2 separate regions of the Homo sapiens genome follow, and region 2 is linked to region 1. The links are contacts of gene promoters, found by promoter capture Hi-C in blood cells and fetal thymus (Javierre and others, 2016). All regions are on one chromosome and are shown on one strand. The core of a region is centred on a gene start or on the middle of the fragment in contact, and the rest is flanking DNA. Distances in the headings are between cores, read along the strand shown.

Region 1 (2,916 bases), core at 250-2,749:
GACCAAGGCCGCTCCGCGCCGGGCAGGCAGGGGGCGCCGGGGAGGGTTATTGACCCTGGACCCAGGCTGCACCCAGACGAAGCGCCGGAGGCTGCGCTGCGCCCTCTCCGCGGCCCAACGCTCTGGCAGCCCGCCCCCTGGGGTTTGCTCGGCGCCCAGCAAGCCCGAGGTGCGCGGGTCGCAGCGCGCCCTCTCTGCCTCCTGCTCCTAGGCTGCCGCCGCTGGCTGTGTGCCCTCCACTCCCGGCTCTCCGAGCGCTCGCTGGGCCTCTTCTCTCCCCACGTCCGAGCGCTCGCTGGGCCTCTTTCCTCCCCACCTGCGCGTGGCTGTGCGGAGCCGGTAGCTCTGCTCTGCCCGTGCCCCCGCCCCCACCCCGCGATCACAGCCCCCACCTTGGTGTCCCCTACTCCCCGCCGCAGTCCTCCCGCCGCGCAGCGCCGCGCCGGAGAGCATGGCCGAGCGCACAGCGCCCACTACCGCAGCCGCGGCTCGGCGCAGTCCACCCGCCCGCCCGCGCAACTTCCAGCGGCCGCCTCGCAACTTTTCCCAAGTCCACCACAGCCGCCCGCCGCCGCCGCCACTGTGGCTCCCTCTGAGCCGCCTACCCTACCCAAACCCCAGAAACAAACCGAGGCTCGAAAAGGCTCCCTTCTCCTGCCGGCCCCCCATCCCCCGCGCCCCCCTCCTCCCACACCCGGGACTAGCTGGTTGGCCAGAGGCAACTCTCCCCCGCCTGGGGGGAAGGGGAGGGGAGGGGGAGACTTTCTCCTCTTCTCTTCCCCCCCACCCCACCCCTTCGCGCTCACTCTCGCGCTCTCTCCTCCCTCCCACCCCTAGTCTTTGCTGCCCCCACCCCCACCCCCACCCCGGGGTTGCCACAGCTGGTCGGTGCGCGGGACTGAGGGCTGCCCAGGCTCCTCCGGCGCCCAACCCGGGAGCGAGAGCGCGGGCGACCGGGAGCAGAGACTGGAACCGGCAGGTTGCTGGGGCTGCGCTCCGCCTGCCCTCCACCCGGGGCCCCGGCGCAAGAGGCAGCCCGCGCTCCCTCCCGGAGCGCTAGAGACAGATATGCAAGATGGCAGAGGAGGGGGAAAAGCCAATAGAAAAGGGATATTGCACCTACTTGTGGCCAGTTTCCTTGCCCTGCCTTTGGATCTCATGCTGTGCCCAGTCCTGCAGCCGCTGGTGTGTGGTTGGGGCTTTTTTTTCTTGGATCCTTTCCTTCTTTTGCTCTCCCTCTCGCTCCCTCCCTCTCTCTCCTGTCTCTCTCTCTCTCTCTCTCTCTCTCTCTCTCTCTCTCTCTCTCTCTCTCTCTCTCCCTCCCTCCTGTTTCTCTCCTGTTTCTCTCTCTCTTCCACACACTCACTCTCTGTATTTTCTTCTTTCACTCTCTCTCCCTCCCTCTCTCCCTTTCTCTCAATCCACACTCGCTATCTCTCCAGCATTGTCAGTTTGGACACCTTCGCACATGCGCGCTAGACGCCCCTCCAACATCTCAGCGCCGCCAAAAAAAGTTTGGAGCGATTTATCACTTTGATTTGGAGATCTTGTCAGATGGCAATCGCCGAGGAGGCGGAGAAAGGGAGCCGCGGGGAGGGCGGCGGGGGGCGGGGAGCGAACGCAGGGAGCCAGAGGGGAGCAGACACCTCGCCCAAAAAAAGGGGAGGGGGGAATTGAAAAGGCTTGGGCAGAGGATTGATTCCATGTTAGAATCGCCAACAAGCTTGTATCATGATTATTGTTATTGTTTTTCCCACCATAAATTGCAGACATTTTTCTATACCATCTACGAGGGAAGCAAGAAGCCAGGGGGGAAAAAAACTTTAAAAACATTTTTTAAAAACCCTTCTCCTGTTAAAGAACTAGAAGGGCTGGACCCTCGGCTAATAATCCAGGAGAAAGTGAGAATCATCCTGAACTTGAGAAATCTACTGCTGCCGCTGCTACTGCTACTGAAGCTATTGCAGCTTCCGCTTTCAGGGTTGTAAGCAGAATAAATAACTGGTTTTTTCCTCGATTTTAGCTGTAATACCAATGCTTGCTGCCATCCTTGGGACATTTCAGTATTCTTTCCCTACCAAGTAGTAATGATCACCCTTGATTCCCGGGTCCGGGCCGGCGCTGGCATTTGACATCCAAAGACCTCCTGCTTTCTCAGAGGTCGGCTGTCACCTTCCGGCCTCCCCCACTGCTGCCCCGGTCGCCTCCCGATGCAGCTCTGCTTGCCTGCCATTTTCACTCACTCGCTTAAACCTACAACCTCGGGGTCAAAAGAAAGAGGAGTAGGGAGGAAAATCACACACTCTTAAAAAAATACATTGTTGAAATTTCCTTTAATTACAGGATTTACCAATGAAGTGCCACTCAGAAATGGGAATTCCTAAAGGGGCTAGCTGTGTACAAGGTATGAATCAATCCCAACTAGGTATAGATTTTCTTTTGGTACAACCTTCTTGCATTAAACAGTTTTGTTCAATACCTTCCATGTGCTATTTATGTCCCCATTAATATCTGTTGCAAATCCTGCCAGACACCATAAAAGAAAATTACAATCTTTTCAGTCTCCGTGCTGCAACAATACATCCTTGATGTTCAAGTTAAAGGAAAAGAAAAGCAGGTCCTGGGCATGAGTTTGGCAAAGGCTGTGGAGGGAAAGGGGAATCATTGAGAATGCCCAGTCGTACCTGTTGGTATTTATTATCAAATCTAGGACTGCAGACATGAGAGAGCAAATAACAAGGTTCAACCCCAAAGGGTATCAATGGCCTGCAAATCTCTTTATTCAAGAGAATCAAAGTTCAAAGAATTTGTCCTTGTTAAGGATGCCTACCATTTTCCTTTATCCAGAGCTGTGTAATTCTGGGGGCATTTGGCTGTAAGATAGAGGTCCCTGGAGAACCAAGCTACAGGTCTCAA
Region 2 (2,882 bases), core at 162-2,661, 360 kb before region 1:
TTACCCCATTAAATCAGGTCACTGTACTTCTATACTGGAGCCTGGGGTTCTATTAGCTTTTATAGCCACTCCAACACCTTGTTGGGTTATATTATGATTTGTCAAGGCTTCGCTCAATAAGTGGCCCTAAACTAAGACATGAACTTTTAGTTCTGTTTCTCGTGCTGTCACTAGTTACTGAATTAACTTGAAGCAATCTTTCTTAGCTCTGTTTCTATATTGTGGGTTCAGTATTTAAACCTTAGCCACAGCTCTCTTTTAACATGTTAGTTGGCTAATGTGGAATTAATTAAATATCGGCGCGATTCTGTTAGATAATAACATATCTCATCATCATTCTACACAATGTTATGATTATTCTCTGAAAGTGAAACAGCTGCACAAGGTGAGTGTCTGACTAGATTATGTCTAACCTGAACAGACTTTATTCCTCCAATCAAAACATTTTCCTCTCCTTCTTAAAGTTGACAAAGTGATTATAGAAATACAGAGATCTGAATAGAAGGAAAATGTATGATTCATATCATGTGAAGCAAGATGCCACCCAATCCACTCTAGGGAAAGTTGGGAGAAAATATGTCTTTTATTTTTTCTATCATAATGCAGAAAATAAGCACTAGCAGTGTTGATAGCCTATGGCTTTTCACTTAGAATCAACAATAGTGGCATGTCCTATGATTTTACTTTTTCAACACCATCCCCAAACAAAGCAATGAAATGTAAGATGATGTGAATGAGACCCTGAAATTTAAGGAGGCAGAATAATGGTTTGCAGGTGTGAACATTATTCATATTTTAAACTAAATTAAAATTTTCCCCATTACTCTAGGAAAATCAAATAATGTAATTACCAAGAGGTAAGATGCTTCTGATATGTAAAAGATATGCTAATTTTGATGACAGTTTTCAGTCATGTTAATCAAGTAAAGTATATTTATAGGATTTATATTACTGAGAATAATACCAAGGTGAAACTTACAAACTAATCCTTCATTTATAGCCTATTCTGTAAAATTTATAAACCCCAAATACAGGATCCTTTTATGTCCATTTCCTTCAAGTATAAATCAATATGATGGGGGCAACACAAAGGAGGGGGGCTTAGCACTGACATCAGTGCAGCTTGTTTAAATACCCAGATGATGTTTAGAAGACTGTACTTATTCTAGGAGATGTCAAAGAGGGGTTTTTAGTGAATATATGCCTCCTAAATGTCAATGATTGCTTTAAAATGTTCCCTCTAGGTTATCAAATATGAAGAGAGTTCCACTACCTTGCCTTTTTAAACACAATTGGGGCCCGACAGGACTAGACACTCCAGCAATAGCTGAACTTGAATATATACAATCTGTATCTGTGGCTTCAAGACAAGTAGAGAAAAGGAAGACACATGTCCATGTATCAAGTCCTGTTAGAAATGTAGCACAGTCTTAGACAATAGAAGAGAATCAGTGATTCAAGGTAGAGCTTGGACACAGTGCCAATGCTCCAGGGCAGGCAGAGGGACCAGGAATGCCGTGGGGTGGCACAACACCTCCTGCTGTGAAAATGGCAGAGTTTGTTTCCCATGGCCCAGTCTGTGTGCCTCAGGGTTTTGTTGTTGCTGTTGGTTTTTCTCTAAAATAAAAAGAAATCTGGTGAATTCAAACAATTATTACATTATAATTATCGCCTGGTTAATATTGATTGAAAGAATGAATAGAATGAATATTTTTTGAACCAGGGAAAAACTATGAACAAATATAAATTTTAAAAGTGTAATATTTGCCAGGTGTGGTGGATCATGCCTGTAATCCCAGCACTTTGGGAGGCCGAGGCCGGTGGATCACTGAGGTCATGAGTTCAAGACCAGCCTGGCCAACATGAGCAAACCCCATCTCTACTAAAAATACAAAAATTAGCTGGGTGTGGTGGCAGGCACCTGTAATCCCAGCTACTCAGGAGGCTGAGGCAGGAGAATCAGTTGAACCCAGGAGACAGAGATTGCAATGAGCCGAGATTGTACCACTGCACTCCAGCCTGGGCAATAGAGGGAGACTCTGTCTCAAAAAAAAAAAGCGTAACATTTTAGAAACAAACTAGATTTTACTAAACCAGATAAAAGATTAACAACAAAGAAAAATTTGAACAGAGCCAAAACCTAAACACACTGAGGAGTCCTCTTTCAGATTATTTTCACATCTTTAATATTTATTTGAAGAGAGATGACATATACTCAACTACTCTTACATTATTTCTTTCTAAGACAATGATCACCCAAAAAGGTCACATGAAAAACACCACCAATAAATTTATGTCACCGATCAAGAGAATTCTTTGGATTTTCACTAAAAGAAACCATTTTACATATTTTCTACAAATTCCAAGCCAATTGTCTGTAACATCATCAAAAGTCTAACTTCCCCCTTCCCACAAAACAAGAAAGTTCCTTGCCATTCTTTCCTCTCCATGTAATGACACACATTGATGGCATTTTCAGAAAATTTCACTCATGGAATTCATGGCTAACCCAACTTGAAACAGATATATATATATATATCACACTACTATTCATTCATTTATTCAATATATGTTTACTAAATGCCAACTCTGTGCCTGACCTAAAGATTCATAAAACAGTGGAGGTGGAAGACATGTTAGAAGTCATTCATAACAGACGTTGCAATATCTGGGACCTTAAGCGGTAGTGTAAAGATGTGAACACTCAAGTGTAAGATAACAGGGAGTGGTGAAATCCATGTGAAACAAACCACACAGTCCACTTAAGGCATTCAAACTCAATTTCTTTCTCTTCTGAAAACTGTATCAACCAGAAGCAGCCCCAAAGTTGTGAGTATCCAATCCTGATTTTGTCTAACCCTTTATTTTTTCAAATACTCAAA

What was found. Contacts are between HindIII fragments. The CHiCAGO score rates a contact against its expected background, and 5 or more counts as called.
Region 2: a fragment that was not itself captured here is called in contact with the fragment with the promoter of MECOM in region 1 in 1 of 17 cell types (endothelial precursors); the score reaches 8.1 in endothelial precursors.

Annotation. Positions count from the first base shown.
Region 1 is chr3:169,662,213-169,665,128 of GRCh38, forward strand. MECOM (MDS1 and EVI1 complex locus) reads right to left here and starts at 1,500. Exons shown (of 17, transcript NM_004991.4): 1 at 1,124-1,500. The coding sequence starts at 1,160. RefSeq lists a silencer at 392-491. The HindIII fragment of the contact is 2,702 bases long and covers 1-1,721 here.
Region 2 is chr3:169,300,818-169,303,699 of GRCh38, forward strand. The region is part of intron 2 of MECOM (MDS1 and EVI1 complex locus); the gene reads right to left. Among named protein-coding and RNA genes, the nearest start is that of MECOM-AS1, 150 kb to the right of the region's middle. The HindIII fragment of the contact is 3,028 bases long and covers 1-2,882 here.